3 separate regions of the Homo sapiens genome follow, and all the other regions are linked to region 1. The links are contacts of gene promoters, found by promoter capture Hi-C in blood cells and fetal thymus (Javierre and others, 2016). All regions are on one chromosome and are shown on one strand. The core of a region is centred on a gene start or on the middle of the fragment in contact, and the rest is flanking DNA. Distances in the headings are between cores, read along the strand shown.

What was found. The method cuts DNA at HindIII sites, captures the fragments that hold promoters and counts their contacts. A CHiCAGO score of 5 or more calls a contact.
Region 2: a fragment that was not itself captured here is called in contact with the fragment with the promoter of KIAA0408 in region 1 in 2 of 17 cell types (monocytes and neutrophils); the score reaches 5.9 in monocytes.
Region 3: a contact is called between a fragment that was not itself captured here and the fragment with the promoter of KIAA0408 in region 1, in 1 of 17 cell types (neutrophils). The highest score is 5.0, in neutrophils.

Annotation. Positions count from the first base shown.
Region 1 is chr6:127,458,104-127,460,803 of GRCh38, forward strand. It overlaps KIAA0408, which reads right to left and starts at 1,286. Exons shown (of 6, transcript NM_014702.5): 1 at 1,072-1,286. The region is part of intron 7 of SOGA3-KIAA0408 (SOGA3-KIAA0408 readthrough); the gene reads right to left. The HindIII fragment of the contact is 12,466 bases long and covers 1-2,700 here.
Region 2 is chr6:127,180,626-127,183,325 of GRCh38, forward strand. All of the region lies in intron 4 of RSPO3 (R-spondin 3), which reads left to right. All of the region lies in intron 1 of LOC105377989 (a long non-coding RNA gene), which reads right to left. Among named protein-coding and RNA genes, the nearest start is that of RSPO3, 63 kb to the left of the region's middle. The HindIII fragment of the contact is 7,451 bases long and covers 1-2,700 here.
Region 3 is chr6:127,160,337-127,163,036 of GRCh38, forward strand. All of the region lies in intron 4 of RSPO3 (R-spondin 3), which reads left to right. All of the region lies in intron 3 of LOC105377989 (a long non-coding RNA gene), which reads right to left. Among named protein-coding and RNA genes, the nearest start is that of RSPO3, 43 kb to the left of the region's middle. The HindIII fragment of the contact is 2,870 bases long and covers 1-2,700 here.

The sequences.
Region 1 (2,700 bases), core at 36-2,535:
CTCATTTGGCCTGAAGATGTTTTGCTTCTGCTTAACTTTGATGGATTAGGAATTCCCCAGCTTATAACCTATCAGAGTAATGTACCATTTACCTCCTAAATTCTCTATCCCTTTCTCCAGGCTATTATAATCACTTGAATTATTTCAATGAATTAATAAATCTCATTCCTCTCTATTGTTCACTTGCAATTGAATCTTTCCAAAGACCACCATGATTTGATTTTGTTAGAGTAAAAGGGAAATTTTTTTCATTGCTGTGTATTGCTGATTTAGCACATTCCTCATGCTCCAACAAGGTCAAAGAGACACTACCACATGCAATTCCGAATGAATCAACTTTACCGTTTCATTTAATTATCTTCTTCCTTGTTTTCTTTACAGTTATTTACTCAAATTAGAAAACATCCAAGCTGTATGCACACTGATTTTACTTATAAAATGCAAACTTTAAAAGCAAACATTTGGTTTGAGTAAACAAATGTCTAAAACTAACCATCGTGAACAAAAGACATAGTGGTAAGTTTCCCTCCTAAACGTAGATTATTCAATTATGAATGGCATAGACTTCAGCTCAAATTACAGAAACACTAACTCTACAGTGAGTCCACCACCACCTTAGATAAAACTAAAATTTATTTTTCACCGCAATTTTCAAATACCAAGTCTCCAGGATTGTGACCTTTAATTTGCAAATGTTAAAAGTCTTTATATGAATAAAAAAAATCACATTTGAATAAATATACTTAGTGAAAATCAATGATGGGCAAAGTGCTTTTCAAACAACTGAGAAGCAGTGTTGGAAAAACAGTCTCAAAGAGCGGATGGTACTGTCAGTCCACAGTTGGGAAATCCACCCTGAGCAGCTGAACAGCCTTTTTCCTAGGAGTCAGTACAATCTGTTATGCACCCCGCCCACTGTTTTTAAGCCCAGACACAGACAACAGCAGAGACAGATGTTGAAATTACACTCCACTTAAACAGTATCCATAGTTTAAAACATCTCAACAGCAGCCCCTTTGTATCCTGCCATAATTAGTCACTTGCTTGTAAACTTGCCGGAAAGAAACATACCTTTCACACTGGGGAGAAATCCTATGGATGCTCGACCACTGGTCAATTAGCAGTGGAAGAAAGTGGATGGCTAGCTGTCTTAAAGAGAAAAGTCTCAGCTCGGTGAATCTCGATTCTTTACAAGAAAAGGGGATGCAAAATAAGTCCAACCATTCCACAGAGCAGTACTGACAAGTCCCTTTGAAACCTTCACCACTTTTACAAGTCAAAAAGCTGCTCAGCTTAGTGTCACAGCAGCAGCTGAGACTACTGTGACGTCAGTTACTTGGAGGCGGCCTTCAAGCCACCTCTTCCAACCAGAGCTCTGTAACTTTAGAGCAGCTCATGCTCTGGGTAAACAACTCCAGGTCCAGGACATTTTTAGCTTTTATAATGGAGCCCAGTATTTTCAAACTTGCCAAAAGAGCTGGTTGTTAACATCATACAATGACAATGGCCAATTTTAGATTTATTTTATTAGGAAAGTAAACTCATTTTTTTATAGGCAAGAATTATCTCCCTCCTTCCATAATTCTTTCTCCTTCTCAGCTGGTGGCAGGATGTACTCTGCTGCACCTTTAGAAGTTTGCATCTGGATGTGGCAGAACAATATGTGTAGCATAATTATATATATTATGCACTCTCAAAAGATCTGTGAAAGTTATCAAACTTCTATCTTCAAATAAAATAGAAATGGAACATAAAGTCCAACCTCTTAGCTCTCTGTGATTCTGACAGTGTGTTGCTTTTATCTACAGTAGTAGCGATGTCTTTACGTTAGAGAAAATCAGAGCCCATGGGAAAGGATGAGATTTCTTATTGTGGGAGGACAAAACACACACACACACACACCCCAAAAATGAGATACCTATGGGCTTATTTTCCACTAAAGTGTGCTGCAGCCATAGGAAGAGAAAGCAGCCTAAGTGTATGGAAAAGCTCTCTAAATCATGATCAAATCAGCCTGTTCTGAAATGCTAGGAGATCTTGCCTCCCCAGCGACATTTTCAGGTTTATTGTGGCTTTGTACACACATGCATCTGATGATATTTGGTTTAATTTAGTCAAAAAAGTCTCTAGAGCAATTTTTTGCCTAACTTAGCAAATACACAAGTTTAAACAATAAGGTCTTATCTTCAAGTCTGAAGAGCTTCCCTGGTGTGGTCTTTAAAGTAATACATATTCACTCACATTATTTTCACCTGCTTCCAGATAAACATTTCATGAGGAGCTAAAGTTTAGTAATAGTAACCTGCTCACAGTAGGACTTTAATACATGTAGGACAATCAAATGAAACCATACTCTGTGTCTGGAAAGCCTGACATCATAATCTCAACAGCAATAACAACAATAACAGTGATAGTTATAGTAATAATAGTGATTATTCACTGAGGGGCAACCCTCTGCAAGGTTCTGTGCTAAGTACTTTGAACAGACCTTTATCTGAGTTCACCCTCAGAGCAATTCTGTCTCTAGATACTGATAATCTGATCTTACTGATAAAACCCAAGCAAGGCTCATTGTGGTAAAGCATCATGCAAAAGTTCATAGAAATGCACCCATGTGGAGGAAACGGGTTTGAACTGTTTTGTCTGATTGCAAACCATGGAATTTTGTCATAGAGATCTAAGTTTCAATTCTGCTGCCAC
Region 2 (2,700 bases), core at 119-2,618, 280 kb before region 1:
CAGATGGCCTTGAGTGGGTTAACAACTTTCATCAAACATCTTAAAGGAATTAAGTGCTCCTCAGATTTTACCCAAACCAGATTAAGGCTGTTCTATTATTAAGGGTGAGTTGATTCACTCAGCTGTTTTATAGTTTCATAGAGACCATTTATTATTGTTACTAATTATTTTTATTTTAGGGATTATAATTTTAGAATTCTTTTCATTTTCAACTACTTATATATCATTTGTTTCTCATACCTACCCCAAATAATGAGAATAGTAGGAATTATTGATTCTATTTTATAAATGAGGCAAACAAAGCACAGAAAGTGCTTTACTTAAGGTCATATTGCTGATGAGTAATATAGCCAAGTTTAAAATGCACGTTTCCTGATACCTATTTCAGATATTTAAAATTTAATGTCCCACTTTTTTTAAGCACACATTTTAAAAGATGAGGTCTTGAGAGTTTAAGTAATATCCCCCAAAGATAGACTATGACTAAATAGCTTGACAGAAAATCAAACTCAGATCTTTCTAACTTCAAAGCCCAAGGTCATAGCAGCTATACATTACTGCATCCCTCCTCACCTGCTGGAGAAGATCAGGGAAGAATTAATAGAGAAGTAGCCTTTAAAATGTATCTTGAATGATGTATGTAGGTAAGGGGTGATCTTCAAGATACTTAAAAACTATACAGTAAAATATACAAATACAGTACCCCATATATAAATATGTTAAATATATTATCATACATAGATAATACAGCTGCTTACCAGGTGTTGTTAGCAGTAGTGCAAATCATTTGTGAGGTTATTCAGTGATGCCTGAAAAGAGTTGCTAATTTTTAGAAATCACCCGGTATTGTTTTCAGTTTGTTAGGGTTGATTCACACACCCACACCCAGACCCATTCATACTCAGGGAAGGCTTCCTCAGAGACATTTTGTGCTTAACTCCTTAAATCCTCTGCAGTTTAAAAGTTCCAGCAGACCTTGCAGGATCCAAAAGTGTGCTTGATTAAGGGTGGGCAAGATGTAATGGACAAAAAAGGGATTCACCTTCCTCTCCCCAAATTCTGACATAAGAGATAAACAAGTAAGCCAACCTTACTTCTGCTTTCCTTCAGTATTTTCACTCCCCAATATTTGAAGTCACTTCTTGACTACTACTCTTTCTCCTAAATATTCTCTGGAGATAAGGGAATGGCTTATATACAGTCATTGATCACGTATCCCCGTTTCTACCTGTCTCAGTACATTTTTGTATTGCTATAACAGAATACCTAAGGCTGGGTAATTCATTCAAAAAAAGAGGTTTATTTGGCTAACAGTTCTGCAGGCTGTACAAGAAGCATGGCACCAGTATCTGACTCTGGTGAGGGCCTCAGGCTGCTTCCACTCATGACAGAAGGAAAAGGGGAACTGGCACGTGCAGATCATATGACTAGAGAAGAAAAGAGAGAGTGTGTGAGAGAATGGAGAGAGAGAGAAGGTGCCAGGCTCTTTTTAACAAGCAGCTCTCTGGGAAACTCTCCTAGGAACTAATATAGAGTGAGAACTCACTCATTACCATGAGAATGGCACCAAGTCATTCATGAGGGACCCACTCCAATGACTCCCAAACACCTCCCATTTGGCCCCACCCCAAACATTTGCGCTCAAATTTCAACATGACATTTGCAGGGTCAAATATCTAAACTATAGCATTACCTTAACTAGGTCTTAAGGTATATATGAAGTTTACTTTGCTCAGAAAATAAAAACCAAACATATGGGCTATTTCAAGCTCTTTACCCCTTTAAAACTTTTTTCTATCTATTTCATCTGGCCTTCTTTTTTCCAGGGTCACTTTATTTCGTTCTTAAATACTTCAATTAAATGAGAAATATTTATTTTAGAGATTAAGACAGTGTTCTTAGAGATTGAGTAAGACAGTGTTCATTCTTTCAGGAATTGTCACATTTCCTTTAATTTTCAGCTCATTTGCTTAAGCCTTTCCTGAGACTTTCTCTTCCCATTAATTGCATTGCACATAACATCTGCTGTCCTTGCTACACCCTCTTAAATGGAAAGTTTCATCATACTACCCAGTGGTCCATTTTGGTGGCATTCCACTGAAAGAAAAATTCAATGGATTACAACAAAAGCCACAGTTATTCGAAACTCAAGGGGAAGTCAGGCTTCTGAGACTGTGTAGTGCCACTTCAAAAGAGGATACAAAAGCCCCAAGATCAGGCAAGATGGGCTAGAATCATATTTCATGACTTTAAAGGAAGACTACATTCTCAACTCCACCAAATAAAGCATCATTTATGCTTGCTATAGAAGATAATTAAGGAAGACAAGGTTATTTTGTCATCTTTCAACTTTTGACAACCATCCCAAGTGCTTTCCTCTCTTCCTCTATTTCTCTTGTTATTTGTTCCTCTTCCTGACCACCTCTTTTTCTCCAAACAATCGCAAAAACTTTTTGGTAGACCACTGTTTTCCAGCTTTGGGCTGAGAGATGGACTCTGATCCACACTCCCAACCTCAGGGAAACTCTGAAGTCTTCAAATCACTAAAACTGTCCTAGAACTCAAATGCCTTCTGGAAACAAGAGAATGGAATTCTTTCTAACTTCTCTGTTCCAACCTGGACTTCCTAATGCCATTTCTTGAAACAGCTTTAGGGATACTCTAGTTATTCATCATTGACTTGGTCCCAAAGGACCAAGC
Region 3 (2,700 bases), core at 146-2,645, 300 kb before region 1:
AATGTAGGCACTACCAATGCAGTGAAGAGGACCCTGAAAAGTGGGGCTTAGGCTGGGAGGGTTCTTGGCTTAGCCCAGAAAAGAATTCAAGGGTAAGCCAGTGGTGTTCAACAGCAACTTTTATTGAAGCAGCAGTGTACAGCAGCAGCAGAGGTACTGCTCCTTATGGAGCAGGGATACCCCATAGGCATTGTGCCCTGAGTACCATCTCAGAGGAAGTTCTGCAGTCACATTTATACCCACTTTTAATTAGATGCAAATTAAGGGGCACATTATGCAGAAATTTCTAGGAGAAGGGTGGTAACTTCTACGTCATTGGGTTGTTGCTATGGAAAGGGGTGGTAACTTCTGGGTGTTGCCATGGCAATGGCAAACTGACATGGCACATTGGTGGGTGTGTCTTTTAGAAAGGTGCTTCCACTCCATGCCTGTTTTAATTAGTCCTCAATTTGGTCTGGTGTCTGAACCCTGCCTCCAGAGTCAAGTCTCACTTTGTGAGTCAAGCCCTACCTCCTACCTCACTACTCATCTTTAAAGTCTCTCATAAAAACATGTTTGGTCTTCAGATGCTCTTTAATCATGGTCACATATGACTTATTCTCTGTTTTTATTTGATATTTTTTTCTCCTTAGCTATATTACTCAACCCTTATTCCTTTTTTTTTTCTTTCCCACCACCTCCAATTTAATCACTGAAACATCAAATCACCTTGTAAATTCAGTGGACAAGTATCAGAATTTATTATCCATGTAGGTGAAAACATTTAATGCCTCAGTGATAGGCCCCACCTCTTATTGTTTCCTCTGGCATTGACATTATAATAGCAGGATCTATGTGAGGATTCTTTGTTGCCTAGGTTTTTGGGTTGAAGACATGCACAATTGACTCCCCTGTGTCATAATGAAGCAGCAGAATTACAGCCAGCACCTTGATAGATATAGAAAAAAAAATGAAATGACAGTTTTTAAGTTTCTTGCCTCTAACACATTTTACATCCTATTGTATGTTCTTAAACTTCTCAATATTAAAGAAAAAGCTCTGCAGAAAATAAGACTTTATTTCATGCCTTGCATTCCTTGATATTATATCATTTTTTAGAACTCAGCCAGCAGTTACTACCTCTTACAATTCAGACCAAGTTTGCTCCATACCATTTTTGTAGGCTCTCTGAGATTTTGGGGATTTTATTAACGGTGGTCGAAAATCATGGTGGACATTATTCACAGTGGGAAATACTTAATTGTTATTATCATCCATGCAATCCCTTCATTCCTATGATAGTATAAGAATTATTTGTAGGCTTTTCTGCTAATTGGTGTGTACCTCAGCATTCCTATTCTAAAATAAACTTTGTAATAAATGACCCTTGAAAATGCCTATATTCTCTGAGATTTCACTTAGTGATATTTATAAATATTTAGTGCTTTGTGACCCATTGGTGAGTGTGACATAATACACAGTGATCAGGTTATTGAATAGAGTGGTAGCATTCTTCAGCTCCTAAGCAAACAATGATCTTGCCATTGTTTAGGTCTGGTGCACGAGGATTGTTTCAGTTAGCTTTTGCTGCATAACAAATAACCTCAAAACATAAAGGCTTAAAACAACAACCACTTACTTAACAATTTGTGGCTGGGCAATTAAGGCTGAGACCTACTGGGCAATTTTGATCTTGGCTGGGCTCTGTCACATTGTTGGATGGCTGGAGAATGAGGAAATTGCCATGTTTCTATTATCATCAAGATGGCAAGAGGTCCTACAGCCTTCCAAAGTAGAAAAGGTGAAGTCATTCCTCTTGAGGCTAGGCTCAGAACCTGGCATAGTTTTTACTTCCACCACATTCTGTCAGCCTATACTAGTCATAAGCCTAGTCCTGATTCAAGAGTTGAAGAAACAGATTTTATCTCTTGGCAGGAGAAGGTGCAAACTTACTTTGCAAGGTGGCATGCATATACAGGGTGGGAGAGGAGAATTATAGCCATTTTTGCATTCTACCCTAGAGGTCTTTCTCTTGTTTGTAGTTAGATTAGTGTGATTCCTCATTCACTTAACAATCTCTTATTGTCTGAAATACAGTAAGAGATTTGTATTTCCTTTGTAAATTTCCTTCCTTCCTTTGTAAAAACAGTCAACTATTGATACAGGAGATGTTGTGTTGGATATTATTTCTATTGTACTTTCTAATTTGTAAAGGGCAGAACAGGAAGAATAAATAAAATCTGAGGCCAAGATACCTTCATACGCTCAACAAATATTTATTAAACTTCCACCATGTGCTGGGCACTCTTAGGTGCTGAGGATAAAGCAGTACACCAAAAAGACAAAATTCTTTTCATCATAGATCTTATATTCCGAATGGTTTATATCAGTCCACAAGGTAATGACCATAGAGTATCAGCCCTTTTGTAAGCATACACCTTTGTTAACAGTTTTCACCTTTGTGATTTGTACCACCAGTAGCTGCTGTCTTCATTAGAGTTTCCTAACACATTACAAAGACATTTGTTAATGCTGGCAAAAATGAAACTTCTCTGCTTACATTTCATTTTGGTCTCAATGTGAATACATGTATTTTTTCTGTGACCACCATGTTGATGTGCTAATATGTTTTTGTAAGACGGCTAAGTAGGGTTAAAGGTACAGCTTGTGGTTGTGGAACAATGCTGAGTTAACCGGCCCTTTGGAGAAATGACCCCAAGA